6 separate regions of the Homo sapiens genome follow, and regions 2, 3, 4, 5 and 6 are each linked to region 1. Evidence: promoter capture Hi-C in 16 types of primary human blood cells and fetal thymus (Javierre and others, 2016). All regions are on one chromosome and are shown on one strand. The core of a region is centred on a gene start or on the middle of the fragment in contact, and the rest is flanking DNA. Distances in the headings are between cores, read along the strand shown. Region 1 holds the start of CALCRL (calcitonin receptor like receptor). Region 2 has its middle 21 kb from the start of CALCRL-AS1. Region 3 has its middle 3.7 kb from the start of CALCRL-AS1. Region 4 overlaps CALCRL-AS1 (CALCRL and TFPI antisense RNA 1). Region 5 overlaps CALCRL-AS1 (CALCRL and TFPI antisense RNA 1). Region 6 overlaps CALCRL-AS1 (CALCRL and TFPI antisense RNA 1).

What was found. The method cuts DNA at HindIII sites, captures the fragments that hold promoters and counts their contacts. A CHiCAGO score of 5 or more calls a contact.
Region 2: a fragment that was not itself captured here is called in contact with the fragment with the promoter of CALCRL in region 1 in 2 of 17 cell types (endothelial precursors and megakaryocytes); the score reaches 7.4 in endothelial precursors.
Region 3: a fragment that was not itself captured here is called in contact with the fragment with the promoter of CALCRL in region 1 in 1 of 17 cell types (endothelial precursors); the score reaches 5.3 in endothelial precursors.
Region 4: a contact is called between a fragment that was not itself captured here and the fragment with the promoter of CALCRL in region 1, in 3 of 17 cell types (megakaryocytes, M2 macrophages and endothelial precursors). The highest score is 8.9, in megakaryocytes.
Region 5: a contact is called between a fragment that was not itself captured here and the fragment with the promoter of CALCRL in region 1, in 6 of 17 cell types (M2 macrophages, megakaryocytes, M0 macrophages and 3 more). The highest score is 16.1, in M2 macrophages.
Region 6: a fragment that was not itself captured here is called in contact with the fragment with the promoter of CALCRL in region 1 in 3 of 17 cell types (M2 macrophages, megakaryocytes and M0 macrophages); the score reaches 10.2 in M2 macrophages.

The regions. Positions count from the first base shown.
Region 1 is chr2:187,445,511-187,450,061 of GRCh38, reverse strand. CALCRL (calcitonin receptor like receptor) reads left to right here and starts at 1,810. Exons shown (of 15, transcript NM_005795.6): 1 at 1,810-2,023. All of the region lies in intron 2 of CALCRL-AS1 (CALCRL and TFPI antisense RNA 1), which reads right to left. The HindIII fragment of the contact is 1,657 bases long and covers 258-1,914 here.
Region 2 is chr2:186,980,120-186,984,670 of GRCh38, reverse strand. No RefSeq gene overlaps it. Among named protein-coding and RNA genes, the nearest start is that of CALCRL-AS1, 21 kb to the left of the region's middle. The HindIII fragment of the contact is 2,889 bases long and covers 1,024-3,912 here.
Region 3 is chr2:186,997,268-187,001,818 of GRCh38, reverse strand. It overlaps the pseudogene IMPDH1P7. Among named protein-coding and RNA genes, the nearest start is that of CALCRL-AS1, 3.7 kb to the left of the region's middle. The HindIII fragment of the contact is 3,517 bases long and covers 798-4,314 here.
Region 4 is chr2:187,121,663-187,126,213 of GRCh38, reverse strand. All of the region lies in intron 1 of CALCRL-AS1 (CALCRL and TFPI antisense RNA 1), which reads right to left. It also overlaps the pseudogene RN7SKP42. Among named protein-coding and RNA genes, the nearest start is that of CALCRL-AS1, 120 kb to the right of the region's middle. The HindIII fragment of the contact is 3,665 bases long and covers 872-4,536 here.
Region 5 is chr2:187,142,890-187,147,440 of GRCh38, reverse strand. The region is part of intron 1 of CALCRL-AS1 (CALCRL and TFPI antisense RNA 1); the gene reads right to left. LOC124906106 (a long non-coding RNA gene) reads left to right here. Exons shown (of 3, transcript XR_007087543.1): 3 at 2,875-2,950. Among named protein-coding and RNA genes, the nearest start is that of CALCRL-AS1, 140 kb to the right of the region's middle. The HindIII fragment of the contact is 4,297 bases long and covers 1-3,933 here.
Region 6 is chr2:187,163,912-187,168,462 of GRCh38, reverse strand. The region is part of intron 1 of CALCRL-AS1 (CALCRL and TFPI antisense RNA 1); the gene reads right to left. Among named protein-coding and RNA genes, the nearest start is that of CALCRL-AS1, 160 kb to the right of the region's middle. The HindIII fragment of the contact is 386 bases long and covers 1,842-2,227 here.

The sequences.
Region 1 (4,551 bases), core at 561-3,060:
GGAAGGAAGGAAGGAAAGAAAGAAAAATGAATCTTTGGAAAGACGAAAATATCAATGCTTTTATAAACATATTGGGAAAAGTTTTAGTTTTCCATGATTTAATTAAATTCAAAAACTATATATTAATCTCTTTATAGGATTCATATATTACACTTAGCATGGAAGATGAGAAGACATGACCCATTATTACTTTCATATTAAATCTAGTATTTGTTTTTCTCTGAATTTCAAGATGGGAACATGAAGCCTAAAAAGCTTTGTCAAGATCACACCAGACAGTATCAGAACCGGTTCACCAGTGTAACTCAGTTTCTTACAAGTCTTTTCTATTAACCATAATTATAGAGATGAAAGTATATCTATTTTTTATATGTCTGTATTTTGTAATCAATATTGATCTCACTGGTCTTAAAATCAAAGATTGTATAAACATTTTCTTCCACTAATTCAGACAATAAAAATGTCAACATGAGCACCCTGCTTTAAAAACATGATATTCCTGAATTTATTTTGCCTTTACCTCCTTTGTCTGCCTACAAGGTGTATGGCACCTCATTTTATCCTGGAATTGCACTAACAATTTACTAAGAGTTGAATGATCCTCACCGTATCTTATCTATTTCAAAATGTTATGAAATTTGTCGATTCAAAGCCTTAGACATAAAATCTATCTCTTCTAGTTTATAGATGAGAAAATTTATGCCCTGATAAATTAAGTGACTTTTAGTGCTGTTTAGGTTATAGGGATTATAATTATTGCTTCATATCGAACATTTACCAAATTATAAAAATGATAAAAGCATTTTAAATTTACATTTTCCCCTGATCATATCCAATGATGTATTAAACATATTCAGGAAAAACTATGCTTTGAGATGAAATTTTGTCTAAGAAATAAAGTATCCTTTGTATTTATATTATTTTATAATATTATGTTTACAACATCTATATTTTCTTTAAGATTATATTGACTTACAAATATTGTGGTATAAATTATTTTATATTATAAATAACATAATTATACCAAATATTTTTAAATGTGTGCAATAATTTTAAAATTATGAATTATTCAAAAGGCTATTTTGTCAAATATATATACTTATATATTATAAAAGAAACACTCTATACACACACATACACAACCTGAATTTATAACACATACACTCATGTTCTTATGAAGAAGGTAAAGGAAAAAATAAAAGATTTAAAAACTGCAGGATAAAGTTTCTTGATCTAATTAACTGATTAGGAACTGCACTTAGGAACTGATGGAGGAACAGCACCCAATTAGCAGAGCTCCAAATTAAGAAGAGCCAAATCACAAAACCAGTTATGATGAATACAGTTAATTTTTTTTTCTGTGTTGTGCTATGAACACAGATTTGTTAGATTTTTTTTCCTGGATACTTTGTAAGCTATAATTCAACACACACACACACACACACACACACACACACACACACACGCCTAACTCCTTTGATTCTTTGAGCAGAATACTATATTCAGATTTCCTTCAAATCACAAGTAGCTTGTTTGGCAAGTTCTAACAGAACTCAGTCAAGGTGAAAGCCAGCCAGCTTTTTACTGGTAACAATGTATTCACACAGCCTATGATCTCTCTCTGTTCAGGCTGCTTCTTGCTCTTGTCTCACAATAAGAAAGGAGTGCTGCTTTCCTGGGGTATGCTATTTGAGAAAGAAAGTAACCTAACACTAACTGCAGGCGGGGTCAGAGTGATGTAACAGGAAGCTCTGATGTTTCCCTTCTGCTGCTGATCACTTACAATCTGACAACACTTACAATCTACTCAGAACAACCTCTCTCTCTCCAGCAGAGAGTGTCACCTCCTGCTTTAGGACCATCAAGCTCTGCTAACTGAATCTCATCCTAATTGCAGGATCACATTGCAAAGCTTTCACTCTTTCCCACCTTGCTTGTGGGTAAATCTCTTCTGCGGAATCTCAGAAAGTAAAGTTCCATCCTGAGAATATTTCACAAAGAATTTCCTTAAGAGCTGGACTGGGTAAGTGCACATTCAAAATAAATATATTTATTCTAAGTAGTATTCTCATATAGTTTGGCAATGTTTCTATTATAGAATTTAGTAGATAGCACTGAAATAATGTTGAAACATAGTCTCACTTATTTCACATGCTAGAGAAAATACAGCCTACTACCCCAACATGAATACAAAATCTAATACTACTAGATAATATTGTTTACCATGGTATTCTAGAAAATAAATTTAGCAAGTATTAAAAATCTAAATGGATTAAAAGACATATTTCTGAACAAATACCTTAATCACAGAACAATGTCTTTTAAAATTAGCTCTAATATTAGCTAAGCTTGAATCTTGACAACTGGAAAACATTTCTCCCCCCGGAAGGGTCTTTAAACTTTCCATGTTATCAGCTGTAAGAAAGAGGTGAAAGAATAACTACTTAATGGGTCTCGGAGTCTCACTTACTCTGTGGTTGATCATAATGCAGAGTTTTGAAAAGTAATCACTTTGTATTTATTACATTTGCTTTTATTTGCCTTTCACCTTTATTTACACATATATCTGTAACTACTGAACTAATTTTTGTGTTCATTGTTGCCAGATGTGTTTAAATCTCTCTTCTGCTAACCCTGAACTGTTTGCTCTTTATTTGGATCATGGTGTCGGCTACAAAGAAAAAAAAAAACCTAGAGTTTAGGAAATGTAGATTTTTAAAACAATTCTTAATTTTGAAATCTTTAAGAGAATACTTCAACTTGACTGGTTCCCCTCTGCAAGCTTTTGGAGGGGGGTGTGATACCACGATATCTGTGGATAAAGAAACGTGACAGCTTTCCCAAAGAAGTATATTAGACGATTAAACAAAGAAATTAAAGTATTTATTAAAAAAGAATTTCCAGGATGGAACTTACTGAAATGTTGGATAAAACATCTGTTAATGCTCATTCCGATAGTACAGACTGTCCTGAACAATTTAAGAAACTAATGTCTGCTTAATAAATTGTTTGTGTAGATATATCACAAATTTGTTGCTGGAGAAAGTTTGATGTCAAATTTTAAATGATGTTGATAGATATGATTTTTAAGTTATATATTTTCTTACCTAAATGCAATTATACTTTCCAAGATGTCCTGCATTGGAAGCATCCTGTACTTAATCACTTATATCTGGCACATTAATAATAGACTACAAACATCCTGAGTAACTCCTCAGTAATTTACAACTCAATTTTTCCACAAATTCCTCAATATAATGAAAATTTAAATTAATTCTTAGATTTGTGATTCTTTAAGAGTATCATGGCTGATTTCTCTCTCTTTTCAATCTTCAGTTGTACTGAGTTCCCTGACACATGTGTAGAAATGGGAAAAGTGTTTTTAGAATGTGACTTTAGCCATTATATAAATGGGGGAGAAAGTGGAAACAACACATTTACTAACCCAATGACGTGGGTTAGTAACAAAAATTAAAACAACATTATTTTTAATTCAGATTATTTTCTTAGGAGGTATTATATTATGATCATATTTTATAATGAGAAACTCTCCAAACTTCCTTAATTTTTGTTTAATTGCTAGTCCCAAACCCATAATTTTCTTGTATAATTTGATTAAATTTTTATGAGTTTACTAACAGTATGGTTTATAATCTTTGTTTTCCAAAAATACTTTTGAAAAACACTAGGCGATGAACATTGAAGGTCATTAGCCAAAGGAAATATTTGAGGACATAACTGGAAGTTTGAAATAAAAATTCATATTATTGTATTCAAAATGTGCTTTCTTTAATGATAAGAAAATATCAGAATATCAATGCATGCTTTTAGCCATAAAGAAATGAATTTACTTTGCTAGAAGATGTTTCCTTGTAGCATCATAAAATCAATGCATTGAGCCTACAGTCAATGCTAAATATGTAAAATGAAACATAGAATTGAAATAGTATGTGAATAATGTGAGCTGAAATATGTTTTACCTGAAATATTCTATTTCTTAAAGAGATAATGTTTTTGATTATTGTTACAAGATTTTTTTTCTATCTTACATACCAAAGCATTATACTAAAAGTTAAAATATGTAGATTTTTATAATATATGAAACTGTTCATTCACTTTGAAAAATTGGAATAACAAAAACATTGTTTAAAATAATACTGGGTCTGTAATTTTAAAAATTATTTTAAATGAATGGGCAAGATTCATATGGTTTTCTCACTGGTGACTCCGAACATGTAATGAATTTTAAATGAAGACAATACTTAGCATATTTGTAAGAATATTTATGTTCACCTGCACATATTATACTATTTTTTCATGCATAACAGAAATAAAATTTCATAAAAAATTGAAAATAATATAAAGGTAAAATGATTACCTTGTTTGCTTTACAGATTAATGTGGACAAAGTATTTGATAAACACATAAACACTAACTGAATTTCAGTTAATAGCATCATTATATATTTCTAACTAGATCATATTTGGAAACATTGTAAAAATATTTTGCTACCAATTTTATCTACATGGCAAAAGTTTGATAGTAACTTAA
Region 2 (4,551 bases), core at 1,219-3,718, 470 kb after region 1:
GCCAAGCCATTGAAAAAGCCAGGTGTGTAAAGCCAGTAAGTTAAGGCCACTGAATACAGCTAGGTGGTAACTCCAACTGGGTAAGGCTGAGAGGTTAATGCCAGGCAGATTAGGCTAGGAGGTTGAGGCCATGTGACTAAGAATGAAAGGATAAGGCTAGATGAAAAGGCCAGGTTGGTAAGCTATTGAAGCCATGAGGTGAAGGCTGGATGGGTAGGTCCAAATGGGAAATGTAAGGTGTGTTAAGTTAGGGTGCGGTGGGAAATCCAGGTAATAAGGGCAGGGAAATACGTCCAGGGGAGGAAACCTAGGGAGGTAAGTTTAGGAAAATAAGACCAGGGGCTAAGCCCTGGTAAATAAAACTAGAAGGTTAAGGACAGTTGTATAAACTTAGCATGAAACCCACAATGGGTAAGACTAGGTGGGAAAACTAGGTAGATAATCCAGGTTGTTGAGACCATGAGGTTAAGGACCATAGGTTTAGGCTAGGTGTGGAAAGCTAATGGGTTCTGTCAAGGGTGATAAAATGAGGTGGGTTGGCCAGGTGCAGTGGCTCACGACTGTAATCCCAGAACTTTGGGAGGCCGAGGCAGGTGGATCACTTGAGGACAGAAGTTCAAGACCAGCCTGGCCAACATGGTGAAACCTCGTCTCTACTAAAAATGCAAAAATTAGCTAGGCGTGGTGGCACAGGCCTGTAATCCCAGCCCCTCGGGAGGCTGAGGCAGGAGAATTGCTTAAACCAGGGAGTTGGAGGTTGCAGTGAGCCGAGACTGCGCCACTGCACTCCAGCCTGGTGACAGAGGGAGACTCCTCCTCAAAAAATAAATAAATAAAATGTGATGGGTAAGGCCAGGGAGTAGAGAAAGGGCAGTAAGGCACCATGGGCAAGAGCTGGTAGGTTTTGACAGCAGATTGAGGCCAGGAAATTAAAGCCAGCTGGGTAAGAACAAGAGGATAATGGCGAGAAGTTATGTCAGGTAGATAAGGCCAAGACATTTAGTAAGGACAAGAAATTAAGCTTAGGTCAGTAAGGGCAGGAATTTCATAGAGCCACATGAATGAAGTTTGTTTAATAATGCCATGAGGGTAAAGTAATTAAGAAAACGAGGTTAATAACATCTGGTGAGTAAGGCCAGGTTGTTAAAACCACGCATTTATATTTAGCTGAATAAAAGGCTATTTGGGTAGCCCCGGGCCAGTAAATCAATGGAGACATTCCCAGTAGGTTAAATGCCAAGTTGCCAAGCCAGCTAAATGATGAAAGGAAACTAATACTAGGTGGGCAAGACAGTGCGGGGAAGGTGAGGAAGTGAAGGTCTGCTGAATAAAACGAGGTAGTCAACACCAGATGGGTATGAGCCCAACAGATTAAATCATGTTATGCCAGCTGAGGCCAGGCAGGTGAATACAGCAGGTGAGTATGGCTGTCGGGTTAATAATGTTGGTTGCAGAAGGCCTATTGGGTGAAGCCAGTACTTGCACAAGGCCAAGTGGGTAAGGACAAGAAAATACAGTCATGTGGGAAGGCCAATAGGTAAAGGCCAGGAAAGTAAAGCCAGGGGCTGGGAAAGCTGATAATGACACTAGGTTAAGGCCAGTAGGGGTGGGACAGCTAAATAAGACAAGAAAATTGAGACTAATTGTGAAGGACAACAGGGTAAGGCTGGGTAGGTAAAATCAGCTGGGTAATTCTGGTTGGTAAGGACATGATGTTAAGGCCCGTAGGGTAAGGCCAAGTGGGTAAGTCAGATTCACAAGGCCAGGGGATTAATATTGAATGAGTAAGGCCAGGAGGTTCATAAGGCAGGTGGGTAAATCTAAGTTGGCAAAACCATGAGGTTAAGGCCGGGTCAGGAAGCCAAACTATTTAAAAAGCCAGATGGGTAAGACCAGCAAGTTAAGATCTCCCTGAATACAACTAGGTGGCTGAGTTTAAGTGGGTAAAGCAAAGAGTTTAGGCACATTAGGCCAGAAGGTTAAGGCCATGTAAGTTAGAATGGAACGTTAAGGCCAGGCAGGAAGGCCAGGGAGGTAAGCTAAGTTGGTAATCCTGGATGGTAAGGCCATGAGGTTAAGGCCAGGTGGGTAAATCCAGATGAGTAATGCAAGGTGTCTATGTCCAGGAATCTCAGGAATAAGTAAAGGGTGATAAGTTTAGGGGAGTGAACCTAGGGAGGTAAATCCAATGGGTTAAGCCTTCGTAGATACAACTAGAAGGTTAAGGACAGAAGATTTATACTAGATGAGTAAGGCCAAGAGTTTCATAAGGCAGGTGGGTAAATGTAAGTTGGCAAAAACGTGAAGTTACAACCAATTTAGGAAGCCAAGTGATTGAATAGTCTGGGTGGCTTAGGCCAGTAAGTTAAGGCCTTCCTAAATAGAGCTAGGTGGCTAACTCCACCTGGGTAATGTGAAGAGGTTAATAGAGGTTAATACTAGGTAAACAGGGTCAGGATGTTAAGGCCACATGACTTAGAATGAAAGGTTAAGGTCAGGTGCGAATGCCAGCTTACTAAGCTAAGTTGGTCATCTAGATTGGGAAGGTAATGAGTTTAAAGCCAGGTGGGCAATGTAAAATGTCTAAATAGGGCACTGTGGCTGCAGCTGGAGCAAGGAGTTGGTGGTAAAACTAGGGAAAAAGGGAATGTTGATGATAAAACCAAAGGAGAAAACCTAGAGAGATAAATCCAGGGGCTTAATTCCTGTTAGATAAAACCAGAAGGCTAGGGACAGTTGCAAAAACCAAGGTGGAGGCCATGTTCATCATGTATAATCAGTAAGACTAGGTGGGAAAACTAGGTAGCTAATCCAGGTTATCAAGGCCTTGAGGTTAAGACCCATAGGGTTAGGCCAGGTAGGGAAGTCTAATCGGGTCTGGCCAGGGCCATAAAATGATGTGGATAAGGCCAGAAAGAAAGGGCAGGGGAGCAATGGCAGGAGCTTCATAAGCCACGTGGGTAAACCTTAGTGAGTAAAATCAGCTGGGTCTTGACAGGAGATTGAGGCCAGCGAATTAAAACCAGGTGAGTAAGAACACGTGGACAATGGCAGGAAGTTATGGCCAGGCGGGTAAGGCCAGGATTTTTAGGCAAAGTCATGAACACTGGGCAAGTAGGGCCAGGAAGTTAATAAGGCCAGATGGATAACGTCAAGTTCGTCATACAATGAGGATAAAATAAGGTGATGAACGCAATCAGATTAAGGTTGGCTGAGTTCGGCCTGGTTGTTAAAACCAGGTGTCTAAATACAGCTCAATTAAGGACTATTTCAGTAACCCAGTCTGTGAAATCAACAGGGGAAACACCTGGTAGGGTTAAGAGCAAGTTGCCAAGCCAGTCATATGATGACTAGAGGAAACTGTTAGGTGGGTAAGACTGTGGGGAAGGTAAGGATGTAAAGGCCAGCTGAATAAACCAGGTGGTAAACACCAGTAGGGTATAAAGCCAGCAGATTAAGTCATGCTGGCTGGGGCCAGGCAGCTGAAGAGGGCAGGTGAGTATGGCTATAAGGTTAATAATATGGTTAACCAGGGGTTAAGGACAGCTGTATACACCAAGTGTGAAGGCCACGTTTGGTAAGACTAGGTGGGAAAACCAGGCAGTTAATCCAATTTGTTAAGGCTATGAGGTTAAAGCCCATAAGGTTAAGCCCAGTGAGGGAGGCTCCTGGGGTCTCACCAGAGAGGGCGTTAAGCCCAGGGTATAAGGACAGAGGAGTAAGGGCTCGTGGGTAAGATCAGGTGCATCTTGATGGCAGATTAAGACCAACAAAGTTAGCCAAGTGGGTGAGAATAGGTGAATGACGGCGGGAAATTATGGCGAGGTGGGTAAGGCCGAGACTTTTAGGTTAGGCAATGAAGCCTGTGTCAGTAAGGCCAGGAGTTTGATATAGGGCCACATGGATTAAGCTTGTCTAACAACACCAGGAAAATAAGGTGATTGAGGCAGTGAGGTTAATAAGTCTACTGAGTAAGGAAAGGTTGTTAAACCAGGTGTGTAAATCCAGCTGAATAAAAAACTATTTGAGTAACACCAGGCCAGTCAATCAAGGAGAAACAGCCAGGAGCATTAAAACCTAGTCACTACGCCAGCTAAATAATGACAGGAGGCTAATATTGGGTGGGTGAGACAGTGAGAGGAAAGCTAGAAGGTGAAGGATAGCTGAATAAAGCTAGATGATTAAACTCAGATGGATATGAGGCCAGCAGATTAAGTCATGCTAGTTGAGGCTGCGAAGGTGAATACGGCAGGTAAGTAAGCCTGTAAGTTTAATAAAGGACAAGTAGTTAAGTCCTAGTGAGTAAGGCCAGGTGGGTAAGACCAGGTGGGAAAGGCCAATAGGTGAAGACCAGAAGAGTAAGGCCAGGGGAATATCCAGTGACTAATGACACTAGGTAAAGGCCAGTGGGGCTAGGACAGGTAAGCAAGACCTGAAGGTTGAGTATAATTGTGAAGGCCAACTGGTTAAGCCTGTTAGTTGGGTAATCAGGTTGGTAAGGACATGAGGCTAATGCCAGTAGGGTAAGTCCAGGTTACCAAGTGTTCAACC
Region 3 (4,551 bases), core at 1,307-3,806, 450 kb after region 1:
CACAGCCTCCCTCCATAACTGAGTGGTCCACAGACTTGCACTATAGGTTCCCCAGCTCCTTTCCAGGGAGAAAGGAGGGGAAGTTCTGAGGGGTCTGCAGCCTCTTGCTGGGCATCGCCTGCAGAATCAGAACTGCTCCCTGGGCCAGAGTGCCCTGGGAACCCCCCAACACACACACACCAGCCCAGCCAGCCAGGCTCTCAGGCCCTGCGCATGCCTCAGGTCTTTCTTGCTGCAGCCTGCTCCAGCCCGGCCCCCACCACAGGGACAAGAGGCCCCTCCTGGCTTCTCCTGTAGGGCACCTCCCTGCCCCCAGCCCCCGAGGAAATGGTGCTCTCCTGGCCCTGCCTCTGGCACTTCCTGGGCCACTAACCCCTCAGCCATGTGGCACTTCTGAGCTCTTGACCTAGGCCAACGGGAGGTCTCTGCCCACTTCCCCGGCCCTGGGCTACCCTTGGGTCCTGCTCCTCAGGCCACTCCCCTGTCCCTGGCCCTGGGAAGGAGGCTTCCCTGATCATGGCCACCTTCCCGTCATTCCTGACTCACCACCGTCCCCAGGTATATCATTCCTGCCCTCTCCTCAGCTGCAGTTGAAGGCTCACTTTGCACAGTTTGGGATCACAATTGTATAATTGTGTATTAAATAATCGGAATAAATCAAGCAGGTCTCAACACCTCCAAAAGAAATAATAAAAATAAAAAATAAATAAATAAATAAGAAGTGAAGAAGAAAATTCCCTGGTGTACCCCCAAACTCTGCCTGAATGGAACACATCCAAAGCAGCATAGCAAAAGCTTTAAGAATTGTCTGTGAATCAGCTCCAAAGTCTTATACTAATCCCTGACTGTTTCAGATAACAATAAAGACTTTAAACCCTGAACTGACATTCGAACTAGCACCAGTGGAAGGCAAGATAGAACTCATGGTCTGAACCCAACTGGATTTATTAGTAAACAAAAAAACTTCAGAAGATTTTAACAAGATGCAGACTCTCACAACACATTACTCAAAACTTTGAAGATGCAATGCAAAATTGCTCAACATACAAATAATAAAAAAAAAATTGGACCTGTTTTCCACTGAAACAACAATCAACAAATGTCAAATCTAAGATGATCCAGATGTTGGAAAAAAGACTTTATTGTAGCTATGATAACCATGCTCCATGAGGCAAAGGTGAACGCTCTTGAAATTAATGGAAATAAAGACGTTCTTAACAGAGCAATAGAAACTACTGGAAAAAGAAAAGGGAAAAACTGGACATTTAAAAAGTAAAAAATACAACACAACACTTGAAATTTTAAAATTTCCTAGACAGGTTCAATAAGGAATAGAGATGACAGAGGAAAAAGTCAGTAAACTTAAAAATTGATCAATAAAAATTATCTAGTCTAAATAACAGAGAGAAAAGATTGAAAATGAAAATGGCCAGAGCCTCTAGGGCCTGTAGATAATATAATAACAAGATTCAAAAAATCTAGTAGTGGTGTCATTGGCATCTATGAAGTAAAGGGAAAAACTGATTGGTGAAGAAAAATATTTGAAGATATAGTGGATGAAAAACTTCCTCCAAGTTCAGTGAAAAATATAAATTTACAGAAAAAATTCAAGAAGTTCAGAAAAATAGTTTAAACCCAAACAAGACTTAAGGGAAATTATAACAAAGGGAAACTTGTAACCTTAAGAATGAGGATAAAGCAAAAGAAATGCTTGGGTATCTGAATAAATATAATTTAATGTTTTTCTCCTCTCAGTTTATAAAAATATATATGACTTTTGAAATCAAATTTTATAACATTTCTAGAAAGGTTCCAATGTATGTAAATGTAATGGACATGAGAGAGCAAGTAGATAGAAAATCAGTAAGGACACAGAAGGCATGAACAACACTATCAACCAACTTGACCTAATTGACATTTGTAGAACACTCTTGCCCACTAGTAGAAGAATGCATATTCTCCTCTAGTGCACATGGAACATTCACCAACATAGACCATAAAACACCTCAACAAATTCAGAAAAAATCAAATTATATTTTGTATATATTATACATTATATTTTCCAAACACGAGTAACAGAAAAAAATCTGTAAAGCACCTAAATATTTGAAAATTAAATAAACCATGAGTCAAACAAGTAGTAGAGTGGGAACTTGAAAAATATTTTGAAATAAATGAAAACAAAAATTAACTATGTAAGGAATGAAAGACATGTACTCCCACAGACTCCACAGATATTAAAAGACTAATAGTACCAACAACTCTATGCCCATGATTTAAACAGCTTAAATGTGATAGACCACTTCCTTGAAAAATGTAAAATAACCAAAACTCACTAAATAGTAAATTGTCTATGTCTTCATCTAGTAGAAAATTAAATATTTTATTTAAAAACTTCCAAAAATAAAAACTCTAATCCCAGATGGTAAATTTTACTAAATATTTAACAAAGAAATAATACTAATTTCACATAATTTCTTCCAGAAAAGGAAGCTGAGGCTGAGGGGTATATATTTCCCAACTCATTTTATGAAACCAAGATTACCTTGATACCAAAATCAACAAAAAATATTACAAGAAAAGTAAACTACAATGCACTATTTCTCATGAACATAAACAAAAAAGATCCTCAAAAATCTGAATCCAGTAATATATTTAAAAGATAATATAAAATTATCTTTTACTTTATTTAAATGAAAATTACAATTACTTATTTATTAGAATGCCTATAAAAGAAAACACACAAAAAAACTGACAATGCCAAGTGCTAGCAGAGATGCAAACCAACAGAAACTCTCATACATAGCTGAAGAGAATGCAAAATGGCACAGCCACTCTAGAAAACAATGCCTTATAAAGTCAAACATACACTTAGCATATAGCTCAATAACCCTACATTTTAGCATTTACCTAAGTGTGATAAAAACCCACATTCACACAAATATGGTAATTTTAAAACAAATGTGTTAGTTTCATCAGAAACTGGAAACAACACAAATGTCCCTCACTTGGGGACTAGATAAATAAATGTGATGCATTCATATAATGAAATACTATACAGCAATAAGAAGGAATAAAGTATTGATGCATGCAAGAAATGAATGAATCTTAACTCTATTATTCTAAGAGAAATAAACCTTTTTCCAAAGTTAATATACAGAGTAATTCCATGTATATTATTTTCTAGAAAAGGCAAAAGAAAATTGCAAGAACTCTACATGAAAAAAGAGCAAATTTATGGTACATAAACTTTTTAAATAAATTTTTAAAATACTTTGTGGGTGTTTGAAAACAATTTGCTTCACCTACTTATTGTTTGTAGTGTTCTATATATGCAGCCTGTCATTTTATGAAAATTATGTCAAAATCTCCCACTACAATTGATAATTTGTCCATTTCAACTTTAATACTATTGATTTTCACTTTATGCATTTTTTCAGGATATTATTTGCTTTTAACATATAGGTATTCAGGATTGCTGTATTTTTTAATGAATTAGACCATCACTTTTCCTTAAAGTCCTTTTTGTTTCAAGGCCTATTTTGCCTTTCATTAATATTGCAAAATAGTTGTTGGGTTCATCTTTGCCCGCATATGTTTTCACATTTCACTATTTTCATCTTTTCATTATGATCATGTGTAGGTGTATTTCTCATAAACGGCATGTAACTAGATTTAAAAAAAAAAAAAACAGGTCTCATTCTGTCACCTGGACTGGAATACAGTGGCATAATCACGGCTCACTGCAACCTCCACCTTCTGGGCTCAAGAAATGCTCCCACCTCAGCATCCTGAATAGCTAGGACTACAGGCATGCGCCACCACACTTGGCTAATTTTTATATCTTTTTGTAGAGATGAGGTCTCACTATATTGCCCAGGCTGGTCTCAAACTCCTGGGTTAAGCAGTCTTCCTGCCTTGGCCGCCCAAACTGCTGAGATTACAGGCATGGGTCACTGTACCTGGTCACAACTGGATTTTAAAAATTTAATTTGAAATTACCTATCTTTTAAGAGGTAAATTTATCATTAGCATTTATGTTTTTAATACCTCATTTTGTATTTTATTTTATGTCTCCTGGTTTTTATTTACTTGTTTTTTCAACTCCCAAGTGCTTGGAATACCTTTTTTAAATTTACTTATTGCTCTTTCCTTTATTAAAACTGAATCTTTTATTAGTTTGTGTTTGTTTTAAATTCTATTGCTCTTCTATAGAGTTTATCCTTAAATATGTTACATGCATTCTTGACCTAACAGAGTGAAAATTTAATCACTATCACTAGCTCCCTCCAGAAAATCCGATTTGAGAAAGCTTTAACTCCAGTCATTCATCTCTGATTTTTTCATGCAAGTTGAGCTTTAACTCTAGTCATTTATCTCTGATTTTTTTCATTCAAGTTGAGCTCCATCTTTTTTTTAAAGCGCTCAAAATTAGTCATCACCATTATTTTTATTATTGCTTCTGACATTCGTTGTTTATTTAGATTCATCTACAGGTTAATTCATTTCTTTGCAGAGATGTTAATCCACACTTTAATCAATTTCTTTAAT
Region 4 (4,551 bases), core at 1,455-3,954, 320 kb after region 1:
AAACTAGAATGATTACTTAGAGTAACCTACACTGGAATGAAGAGGGAGAAACTGAAAAACAACAAATTAGGAGATACTTTCTATGAGGTTACAACATTGATATTATTTTTCCTCTACAAATTCCTTCTTTCTAGTCTTGACCATCACTGTTTCTACACATTCTCCCTACAAAAAAAAAGATTAGGAAAAAATGTTATTTGCTATTGTTTAAGCATAACTCAAGTGAAAAGGAAAAAGAAAAACCAAATAACCCAACTCAAATTCATCTTTCTTCAGATTTATATTACAATCTCTCTTTTCTGAAAATTATGCCTTAAGATTTAGACCTTAGTGGCTTCCTTCATGTGACATGATGGTACATTGCAAGTGGAAATTGACAGAATCACAGAATTAGAATTTAGAATCTAACATAAAGATTCTTCTAAAATGTGCCCATTATATGTACTTCCTTAGCCATGGAATTTGATGTTCAAATTTAGAATTAAATTAATCTCACCCTTGGACAAAAAAGATTTTTCTCAGAACTAAAAAGTAATAAATTGCTTCATAGTTGAGCCTTTGCAGTAAGTTTTCCTTTAACTTCATGAGAAATGTAACTAAACTGTTCCTAGACACTTCTAAATAAAAATCTTTAAGATGAGAATGGTAACATTAAAGTAAGCAAAGTCATTCTGGGCCTTATTTCAGGTTCTTTGGGCCAAGGCAAAAAATGAAAATCAAGCTTGAGTATTAGGTCTCTTTCTAAATGGAAAAAACTCATCAGTTAAAAACAAAACATAGCTAGGGTAAATGGAAAAAGATAAAAATGACCACCCTTTTATTTTATATCTCTGTGAAGTGATTCCTAGCTCTTGAAGTTGCCTTGCAAGCTTTTCTCCCCTTCCCCTCTTCTAATCACACAATCCTGAAGACTTCCTGGAAGGCAAACTGTGAAATCCACAGGTAAGAGAGCATTGACAATAGTATGAAGAAAAATAAAACCAGACTAAAATTCCTCACCTGTGGGTTATTTTAATTAAACATTTCTGATGTATGAGTGTTAAAAATACAAATGTAAGCAATTTACCCCTGGAAATGAAGACGCTGTATCCAATAAAAATAGAGACCATGTTTTGTTTTGTGATCATGTGTTTTTTAGCTAAAGTTAACTATGAAAAAATGGCTTTATCAATAGAATGATTGACTAGAAAGAAAAAAATCCGTGATAGATATATGCATAGTACGTGTGTGTGTGTTTGCATGACATCATTTTAATAAAAACTACAATTCGAAAGTCTGATAGCTCTGATAATTAACAATGGGAGTTAGTCCATTGTAAACTTGTGTCTGGGTTTTCAGTCTCCTTCCTTGTTTAATTATAAGCAAATTCCAATTTTACTGAGGCCAGTTGGAATTCACTACTGGGAATACAGATTATGTTAACTGATGTGAAGCCCTGTGATCCTGTTACATCTCTGTGTAGCCAAAACGCCTGCCCTGCTCGAGTCTTTTGCACTAGAGGCTGACCCGTCCATGTAGAAATGAACTATAGTAAACTCACTGACATCAGAGGTGAGCCTGGCTGATATCACTGGGTGTGACAAAAGACATCTCAATTTGTAAAAATTAAAATGTCATTCTTTTATGAATAATGTGTGAAAGCAAAAAGCATTTCACAGTCCTGTTTTTTCTTGCAGAAATTTTTAGAGAAAAAGTACAAGATATGCTCATAGAAGGGAGGCAAGATCTGATCTGCTGGATTAGGCAAATAACCCCTAACTGAGGCAAATATGCTTTGTTTGTATTCATTTCTATTTCTTAACTCTAACATCATTTATTTATTGAATAAATATTTTATGACCAGAAATTATGCACTAGATGCATTAATAATAAAGAGATAGGTATTAAAAATGTGTTTGCTCACTAAGTTTTGAACACAGGTAAAAAATCCTTTGAAAACGATTGGATGGTGGGTTACAGAGAATTTTACAATTACACAGTGACACTTCACCTAAGCTGAGTCTTGAAAACTGAGCTGGGGGAAAACTAAGATACTACCATTTGCCAAAAATAGAGAGAAAAGAAAGTTTAGGAAAGTACCTATACCCAGGAGTGATAAAAGTGCACAGAAAATGTGGGAAGATAGCAGAAACAAAGCTGAAGATGTGGGCAGTGGCAAGTCACAAAATCTCGTTCACTAAGTTAAGGAATTTGTATTTTATCCTGAAGTTGACAAACTTTGCAAAACTTACAGTTCTTGAAGACTGAGGTCATGCATAGTTTCTACTCCCAGAAAATGAATTCCATATTCTTCTTTAGAAATACTATTTTCCATATTTTTGATAACAATATTATACCATAGACCTCATTGGCTGTATTATTCCTAGATCATTTAACATTTTAACTACCGTTTGTGTATTCTTCTGCATAATTATGAGGAAGGAGACTACATCCCTGATTCTTTGAAAATGTAAATCCTTTTCAGTAGTTTTTAACAGCCCTAAGACACCCTGGAATAATATTTTTTCTAATTTTTCCTTTTTTCTTATCTCTCTTAACAAAGTTTGTGTTGGCTATTGAAAGAAATGAAGAAAAAAATACTGGTTTCAAAAGATATTTTAAGACAGAACTAAAGAGATAAGCAATATCAAGTGATGATCTTCCATCACTTCATTCTTGTTTTCCAGGAATTTCAACATCATTTGCATGTGACAGATTGGATACACACTATAAACTGAGTCACATCAGTCTTTTTTGTTAGAAAAAAAGTTTACTTAAAATATAGACATCATAAGTTATGGGAAATATAACCCTAAACTGAAAATTGGGGATTCCTTCGTGTAAATTCTGGTTCTGTTACACAGCAATAATATAACTCTTGTTAATTCACTTAATGAGGGGAATCAGAATTGGATTTTAACATTTCATCTATATCCAACATGTAGGGTGCTATTAGCTCAGGAGAAAATGTAATCTCAGAATGTGATGTCAAAAATTTTACTCTAAACTTGAAATAAAAAACAACATAAAATGCATATATAAGTGATATACTGCAGGCATCCACCCTAGTATTTGGTAAGTAAATATATCACTAATGAGAATAGGGTGTCTTTCAAGCCTAGTAAGAAACTTAGTACTGAAGTAATTTAAAAGACCTATATTTTGACTAATTCTAGTATTCTAAAGTCAATATTGGCTTAAACTATTTGTACAATTAAGATATGTTTAATTTTCTTTTCTTCATGAAAATGTAGAACTTACTACAATAATGTATTTTCATACTGGTACACGAATTGTATTGTATATGTTAACATGTAGTTAAATTTCTTTGAAAAAAATCTAGTGATGCAGATGAATATTTCAAAATAAACTAGTGAAGGTCATCTGGCTGCAACATCGCTCCATTGATCACCAGGGTTGTTTGGGCTGATCTGTCTGGCTAGGCAGGTGCCCCTTTCAACCTTACTGTTCCATGTGCATCCCTTCTGAAGCTGAGAGCTTAGTCAAAGAGAGCAACCTTCCCAGATAGAGGAGGACTGTTCATCATCCAGGGTGTACTGGTAGTTGTGCTACTGTGCTAGAACCTCCAGATAAGCTCTCAATATAAACCAGTGATTCTGAGAAATAGTTATATTTAAAAATAAATTGTTCTCCTGATTAGTATATTGCTTTAAATAAAGGCTCTGATGCACATTTTCATCTCTAATTTGTGAAATCTAAAATGTAGTTCACTGGAAATACAAAATGACCAAAAGAAAAATGTTTCCACAGATGAAATTCACTAAATAATTTTAGACTGACTTTTCAGCTCCTTGAAATAATGTTATTTCATCTCTCATTTTAAAGAAAAAGTAAACAATAAAAAGAAACTGCATATGTCACCAGAGAAATAAGGATGACAGAAATATACATGAAAATAGTTTTATAGGACATTTAAAGAAGAGTATATTTTTTATTTTCTATATTTAAAAACAGTGCTATCTAGAGTTAAAATGACTAGATTTCAGAGACTGAGCAAGTAGAAATTGAATGTGCTGCAGTTTTCAAAGGGCTTATTAGAAAACATACAAATATATCAAATTTGACAATGTGTAGATGTAAAGTGTGGCTATAGACCACAATATCCCCAAAACTTCTGATTTAGGAAGGAAAATTAGACAAAGGAGGAAGAACAGAGAGAAGAAATTTCATGGCTGGAAAATTTACAAATTAGGTTAAACAATTTGTTTTGACTTACATTTCCACTTATTTTTTTTTTAATTCAAGTCCTAAGTTTAATGTGTAATCAGTTTATCGAAAGAGTTTCAAGTCATCAGGGTACAAGCATAAATAATTTTAATTTTTCCAGTAATAACCTTTCAACCATGTTATGTTGTTCCACTTAATATTATTTTGGCTAAATTCCATCCCTTTCATGTTACATTTGGCTATTGTCATTGTGTCATTTTATTTTTAAGACTCAGTTCTGGTTTCCTCAAAAAGACTATTCTTAAACTTTGTTCTATGTTTATGTGCTTGTGTCCTCCCATCTCCCACCTCCACATTGAAGAGTAAGCTTTGATTGCCAAAGAG
Region 5 (4,551 bases), core at 536-3,035, 300 kb after region 1:
ACGCAGCTTTCATTAATTATTCTATTAATATGGTGAATTACACTGATTGATTTTCATGTGTGAATCAATCTTTTGCTTCTGAAATAAATCCCACTTTTTTCATATTGTGTAATACAATGTACATGTTGCCAGATTTGGTTTGCTAGTATTTTGTTGAAGACTTTTTAATCTATATTCACAGAGGATATTTGTCCATAGTTTTCTCATGGTGTCTTTGTCTGGTTTAAGTATCAGAGTAATATTGATCTCATAAAACAAGTTCGGAAATATTCTCTTCTCCTATTTTTCATAAGAGTTTATGAAGGATGGATATTAAATCTTGGTTAAAATTTGGTAGAACTGATCAGTTAAGCCATCTGTGATGGTTTTGTTTGGGCGGGGAAAGGGGGTAGGTGGGTCAGTTTAATTCTTGTAGGACTATTTAGAATTACTATCTTTTCTTGAGTCAGTTTTTGTAGTTTCTTTCTAGGAATTTTCCACTTCATCTAAGTTATCTAAAGCATTATCATACAATGGTTCATAGTATTCTCTCATAATTCTTTTTATTTCTGTAATAACTCCTCTCTTTCATTACTGATTTTAGTAATTTAAGTATTTTCTATTTGTTTCTTGGTAAATCTAGCTAGAAATTTGTCAATTTTGGTGATCTTTTTAAGGAACCAAATTCTGGTTTCATTTCTTTTTGCTACTTGTAAAATATTTCTATCTTATTTATTTCCACTACTAATTCTTACTTTTGTCTACTTTTGGAGGGTTTAGTTTATGGTCACTTTTTTAATTTATTAAGGTGGCTGCTTAGGTTATAGATTTAAGATCTTTTTCTCTTTTTTAGGAAAGGCATTTTCAGGTATAAATTTTTCTCTAAGCACTACTTTAGCTGTGTCCTGTAAGTTTTGGTATGTTTTATTATCTTTTATATTCACCTCAAAGTTAATTTTTACGTATTTATAAATTTCCCAAATCCTTTCCATTATTGGTTTCTAATTTTATTCCCTTCTATTCAGGTAATGTGCTTTGTGTTATTTCAATCATTTTATATTTTTTATATTTGTTTTATGGCTAAACATATGGTCTATACTAGAGAATGTTCCATGTACACTTTAGACAGATGTATATTCTGTGGTTGTTGGGCATTCTACAGACGTCTGTTAGGTCTAGTTGGTCTATGGTGTTATTCCAGTATTGTATTTAATTGTTCATCCCTTGTCTATTTGTTCTATCCATTATTATAAATGGAATACTGAAGTGTATAACTATTATAGCTGAATTGTCTATTTCTCCATTCAGTTGTGTAGTATTTTGCTGCATGTATATTAGAGTTGTTGTTAGAGCCATATATGTAAATTCTTGCTCATTCTTGATAGATTGAGCTTTTTATCATTATGAAATATCTGCTCTTCTCTATAATAACATTTCTTGTTTAAAGTCAATTTTTCTGATATAGTTAGTTATTCCAGTTCTCTTAAGGTTGCTATCATAAGGCACTGTTTTTTGGTTGATATATGTTTTTATTGCTGTATGTTCTTGGTGGATTGAGCCTTCTATCATTATCAACATCCTTATCTCTTACAATAATTGTGTCTAAAGTCTATTTTATCTTAGATTAATATAGCCACTCAAGCTCTTCTTTGTTTACTATTTGCTTGGAGTATATTTTTCTATCCTTTTACATATAATCTATTTGAGTCTTTGAATCTAAAGTAAATCTCCTATAGAGGATATATAGTTAGATCATGTTTTTTTAATCTGTTATGCCAATTTCTGCCTTTAGATGGAATAATTAATCTATTTATACTTAATATACTTATTGACAAGATTTACATCGGCTATTTTACTATTTGTTTTCTGTGGCTTTTTTATTTTTTGTTTCTCTATCCTCCACTAATGCTTTATTTTATATTAAATATTTTCTAACCTATCTTGTCATTTTTTATACATTTTTTGAGCTTTTTGTGGTTTCCCTGGGATTACAATTAATATTTTAACCAATAACCCTCTAGTTTGAATTAATACCAACTTAACTTCAGTAATATACAAAAACTTTGGTTCTATATGTCTCCATTTATTTCCTGTTCCTTTGTGTTTCTGTCATATAAATTTATGTATATATCCATCAACACAAGTTTATAATTATTGCTTTATGAATTTGTCTTTTAAACTAGATAGGAGATTTTAAAGAGTTACAAACAAAACACACATATTGTACTTTATGTTTCCCTTATAGTTACCTTTACTGATGCTCTTTATTTTCTCATGTGAATTCAATTTACTTTTTAGTGTCCTTTCCTTGAAATGTGAAGGACTCCCTTTTAGTTAAGAGTTTTCTAAGAAATTATTTTAGGGTGTCTTCTAGTATTGCAGGGTGAATTCTCTCAGTTTTAATCTGTAAATTTCTTACTTTTTCCTTCACTTTTGAATAACGGTTTCAATGGACTTAGAATTCTTGGTTGACAATCATTAAAAATTTACTTTAAATGTGTCACATCAGTGCCTTATTACCTCCATGGATTCTGATGAGAAATCAGCTGTTAAATCCAATTTAGGATTCTCATGTTGATGAGTTGCTGCTCTCTTGCTGCTTTCAAAGTTCTCTTTCTCTTTCTATAGTTTGATTATTATATGCCTAGATCTGAATATCTTTTAGTATATTCTACTTGGAGTTCATGGGCTTTCCTGGCTGTGTAGGTTGCTGTTTTTTATAAAATTTTGAAAGTTTTTAATGATTATTTCTTGAAATATTATTTTGCCTCTTTTTCCCCACCTCTGCTCCTTCTAGAATTTACATTGTGCATATGTTTGTACATTTTATGGTGTCACATAAGTCTCTAAGGCTTGCTTAATTTTTATTCATTTCTTTTCTGTTTGTTCCTCAAGGTGGATGATCTCAATGGACCAATATTCAAGTTTGCTGACTCTTTCTGACAACTCAAATCTGCTTCAGTACCTCTCGTGAATTCATTTCAATTATTGTACTTTTCAACTCTAGTGTTTATTAGTATTCTAAATTTGAGGAGACATTGCTTACACATTTTCCTTCAATTCTTAGACATGGATTCCCTTAGTTTTTGAACATATTAAAAATAGTTAATTTAAAATATTTAACTAGTAAGTCTAACACAGCTTCCTCAAAAATAGTTTGTATTTACTACTTCTTTATTCTTGTGTAGAGGCCATTGTTTCTTATTTGCATGTCTCATAATTTTTTTGAAAACTGGGCATTTAAAATAATATAACATGGCAACTCTGGAAATTAGAGCCCCCTTCTCAAGGGTGTATTGTTGTTATTCCTGTGTTGTCATTTGTTGTTGTTGTTTGTTTAGTGACTTCCCTGGACTAATTCTGTAAAATCTATATTCTTTACCAAACTGGCCACTGATATCTCTGCTCAATTAACTTAGTGGTCAGCCAATTTTTGAACAGAAAAATCCTTAAATTACTCAAACCAATCAGTTTTCTCAGGCTCTGCATGTGTATTGGGGTGTCTCTTTAATACTTAGAAGTTTAGACAGCTCTAAACATGTTAGAGCTAAAGACACCTATGACAACATCTCCTTCCCCAGTTCTTCTTTTTAATATTTCTGGTCAGCTTCTTATTTGCCCACCTGATAGCTCCGCCTCAGGCAGCTACAATGTCAAACTATTATCACTGATTTTTCACAAATATTTCCAGTGAAAATGCTGTTTGCAATGAATAAGTGCTGATTCAGGTAAAATAAGGACAAGTCCTGTGAGTAAGGGTTTTCAGGGAACCTCCAGAAAATTAATGACAATTAATTGAGAATAATGCTTTGGAGGATCTCCAAATCTGTTCTACTCACTGCAGTGATCGATAAGCTATTTTCTACCTCCATTGCAGAGCTATTGATTTTCAAGATTGTGATCAAGCTAGGGAGAGTGGGACGGAAATAGAGGAAGTTAAACTACCACAAAGCTTGAGGTCTTATCAAGACCCAGCCATTTTTCTTGAATAAATACTCCTCTAATTATTCTAAGACTTCAATTAATTTCTAGAGTTATGGAAAACTATATTTTGACTACTTTGATAGTACTGCCATTTTTTTTTTTTTTTTATGGAGGAGCAGATTTTTGAAAGGTTCTTATTCTGTCATTCCCAATGACCAAATTAATGAGTTTGAGCTTGGTCAATTTCTTAATAAATAAATCATATCCTAAATGTATTTTCCAAGGTGAAACCTGACTTTCTGAATATGAAACAATATTTGAAAAAGACACTTTTATTTCATTTAGCATTGGAAATACTAATTACTTTTTGGCAGTAATTTTCTTGATTTTAGTAAATTATCTAAGCTCATTCAACAACATTTGTATAATTACTTACTCATGAATACTAAAGTAAGGGTGAGGTGCCTTGAGAACGTCCTTTGATTTAAAATTGCATACCCCTTATTATTTATAAAATCCTGAAGGATAATTATTTTTCAAATTACATGGAGCAAAGGATAAAATTATGCAATTATAAACAATGTTAACACTTCAAATAAAATTCCAATTTATTGAGTTTATATTCAAGTTTTAAATTGTTTATAACTT
Region 6 (4,551 bases), core at 785-3,284, 280 kb after region 1:
TGATATTTAGATTTCTATACTCTACTAGCTTACCATGAGATAAACTTGCTTCCTGAAGGAACAGTAGGTAAAAGCCTCTTTGATCATTCATTGTTCAGAGGTAAATCTCATTACCCTGGTCTGCAGTAAGAATAGGAAAAAAATGGTACTCTCATTTCAACTTATGACCATGGTAACTATCAGAGCTGGTTCTGGGTAAAATTGTGAAGAAAAAAAAAAAAGCTTTGTAAACTTTTCCCTTGTTGTCTGACATTATTCCCTTTAACTCTTAGTGTTATCTGCAGTTATATTTAACCTGCAGCTATATTTTCTAAAAGCCCTTATATTCCTTTTAAAGGAACATTAGTTATCGCTAAGTACCTGGACAATATATTTTCTGGTGCAAGGAGTCAGATACAACCACACAATGAAGGGGCCTCTTCAAAACTGTCAATGTCATAAAAATCAGTAAAATTCTGAAGAACTATTTCAAAATAAAGGCAATTTAAAAAACATGACGAATGCAATCCATGATCCTGAATCAGGAAATAATGTTGCTATAAAAGACAGTAATTTGGACAAAAAAGTTGAAATTTGGATATAAATAAGGTATTAGATAATCAGTTTCTATGAAAGTAACATTTCTGAATTTGATAATTGTACTGTGATTATACAAAAAAATGCGCTTCTTCTTAGACATGCACACTGAAGTGTTTGGAGTGAAGGTCATGATCTCTCGCAGCTTACTCTCACATGGATTACGCCAGAACAAAAAGAAAATAATAATGAGAATGTCCACATCAATATGTCTTGAGCGACATAAAGTGAATGTGGCAAAATGTTAACAACAAATGAATCTAAATGAAGGGTATATGGAATCCCTTGTAATTATATTGCAACTTTAGGTTTGCATTTGTTAAATGAAAAGTGTAATTTAAAAAACATCAAACACCAAAATAGTCTATAGAATAATACAACTACAAAGTAATTAATTAACAAACATAATCTAATTTTTTTAGAAAAAAGCAGAAATCAATAATGATCAAAAATTTGTTTGGGATTTAGTATAATAAATATATTAAGAGACATAAAAGAGAAAAGAAAATTCCTATCTCCAGAAACTTACAATCTAGAAAATAAAGTAGGTATACATAGAAAAAATAAAATATTACAACAGCTTATAAAACACTTTCTCAAGTATAACATAAAATTTCACCTGAATATCAGTATTTCATAAACTGAGTTGTTTTTCCCAGGTGATACTCCATACTACCACTATTATATTGATAGGAATAAAGTAAATTATAATTATTAATAGCTAAAAATTTATGCATCGTATAGAGAACAAACACAAACAGCTTTGAAGTCAGACAGACCTTGGCTTAAATTCCACAGCTACCACTTACTAGTGAGTTGGGCAAGTTACTTGTCCTCTAAAAGCATTTAGTTTTTTCACTTGTAATTATCATAAATTCACAAAGTTATTGAGGAAATCATACAGATTCACAAAACATTGTGGGCATTTAAGAAACACAGCATGCGCCCAATAAATGACTGACATTATTATTGTCACTATAGCTATATCATTTGTCTCAGGACACTACAGAGTTAGCACTCTATTTAGTGGAAGATTACTCTTAATCTTAACTCTTCTAATCATCCAAACTTCAACAAGGATTTATGTATGCTGCCTTTTATCTTACTTTAAGATAAAAAGTAAAAGTCAAATTACTTATATTTAAGTTGACTTTTATAAAACTATAGTAAAGACTATAATTTTGAGAACTCTGGGTTCAAATTAAAAGAGCAGTTGTTTGAGAGTGAAAACAGTTGTTTGTATATTTTTAGTTATTTCAAAAGCTTGATTTTAAATATGAAGAGTGAAAGCATGTTCAGACTTGTAATCCATAAAGTGGAAACAATAAGTAAGTAGAGAAGAGTTGTTTCCTGTCTCTAATTGGTAAGATTTGAAAAAGAAAGCAAAGAAGGGGAAATTAGAAAGAAGATGACTGGATTTTAGGCCCTGGTCAGTATCTGAGAAAGAGGCTCAATGACCTAAGCTCCAGGCTAAGCTCTGGGAATTAACTGGGAAAACAGAAACCCTTATGCATAGGTCTTTATCTCACAGGATTGGAAGATCTAGAGCATGAGAAAACTGTAGCCTAGCATCCTAAATTACTCCAAAATAGCAGTCTGATAAACAGCTACCATTTACACCGTGATTCCTGACCAGCAGAATAGAAAAGCTTAGAGAAACATAAGGATAGATGGAGCTTGAAGGTTGTATGTGGTCCAGGATAATGAGGGAACAGTGGTTGAAATTCCTTGCTCTTCCCCCTCTCAAAAAGCAGAGAATGTCTTAGAGGATTAATGGACAGCAGAAGTTTTGAGGTTGAGATAAGGAGGATTAAATGTTCCCATAGAGGCATTGTTACATTCTAGAGCAATATCTCTAGAGAAGGTAAGAGGAAAACAGAAAGCACAGCTGAGAGGCTAAGAAGCTGGGGAAAGAAAACATTTTTGGCAGTCTCTCAATGCTTAAGACAAAAATTGAATCTCAGAACCATCCAAGAAAGAGGGGTTCTACTATAGACCCTGAATATTTAGTTTGTATCTCCAAAGGATACACCCTAGAAATAAATATGAGCTGGAAATAAACTAACACTCGCAGACTGAAGACCAACTTTGAATCAGTTAAAAGTATAATTGGATTAATTTGCACCAGCTACAACTTAACTACCTACCAGAGTCAAAAGAAAAATCCTCTATGGAGAAAGATAATGTGATCTAAAAACATAAAATCACATCTAACATTTTTTACATACAATAATACTCAATAAAAAACAGGCAGCAGGAAAAATAAATAAATAAATGTAAATAAAAGGAAAGAATTAACTGAAAATAAAATGAAGAGAAAAATCAGCTAATAGATCCACTGGAGATCCATATATTGGAATTTGGAGTAATAATTTTAAAATAATGGAGGTTAATATGCATAAGCATTAAATGACAAAACAAACAATTTCAGCCAAGAACTAGAAACTATATGAAAGAATCAAATGGTAATTCTAGAATTGAAGAATATCTGAAATTAAGAACTCAGTAATGTCTAATATAAAAGATTAGACAAATCTGAAGAGAGAAGCAGTAAACTGGACAGTATCTCAGAAAATAAATCCAATCTGAAGCACAAAGAATGGAATATAAAGAAAAATGTGTAAAGATATACGAGTCATGGTGAAAGAGTCAACCAACGGGTACTTGGATTTCATAAGGAAGAGAAGATGAAGAATGGGATAAGGAAATATTTGAATAAGAAATGGCTTCAAATTTTAAAAAACTGCTAACTACTTCAAGAAGCAGTACAAACTAGCAGAATAAATTCAAATATAAGAAGTTATTTGCATATAATGGTTAAAATGACTGAAAATAAAATACAAAAACAAAGTGAGCAAATAGAAGGTACGAAAGGACAAAGATGACAAAGAAATGCCTGGTTAAAAGAAAACACAAACAAATTGGAAAATAAAATTTAGTAATTACAACAAATGTAACTGGATTATATCATCCACTAAAACAGATATTCTTGGATTGAATTAGGAAAAAAAATAATCCTTTTACACCCTCTATCAGACACACACTTAAAAGAAATACTACATAGAAAATCGGTGTGGAGGAAAGCTATAGCAGACAAATGATAATAAAAGTGAAAATTGTATAGTCCAAGTAATATTTTATAAGAGAGAATTTTAGCAAAAAAGATTTTAAACTGGAAGTTTCCAAGTTACACAATAAGAGTTTTTGGTTAACACACCAAAATGCATATTCCTTAGCGGCCACAGAGAAATTAAGCCAATGAGTCTGACATTAAGGACAAAGAAGGCTGGTAGCAGTGGCTCACGCCTGTAATCCTGACACTTTGGGAGGCCAAGGCAGGCGAATCATGAGGTCAGGAGTTTGAGACCAGCCTGACCAAAATAGTGAAACCCTGTCTCTATTAAAAATACAAAAAAAAAAAAAAAATTAGCTGGGCGTAAAAGTGGCGCTCGCCTGTAATCCCAGCTACTAGGGAGACTGAGCACAGAGAATCACTTGAACCTGGGAAGCGGAGGTTGTGGTGAGCCAAGATCGCACTTCTGCACTCCAGCCTGGGCGACACAGTGAGACTCCACCTCAAAAAAAAAAAAAAAAAAAAAAAGGACAAAGAGATGTAATAAACATATTTTGGAGAAAAATTTGCCTTCTGGCATTGAATGTAGGCTGAATTTCAACAGACAGCACTGGCAGTATCTGTCTTAAACATTCAACTTATATTCCTGTTTTATCATTTAATACTTTTTCCATAGGTTTCTTGTGAGGATTAAATGAGTTAATACTTATAAAGCACTTAAAACAGTGATTTTCGTCTAATGTCTGTTCAATAAATATTATGTATTGTTGTTATTGTTAGAGTATTGTCCCCTAGGATAATATTTCCTAGAATAAATATTCTAGTTCCAATGTCTTAATATACTGCAATTAAGGGATTTTTAAAAATTGCATGGTGAGACAATTTATTTCCATGTGTTCTAA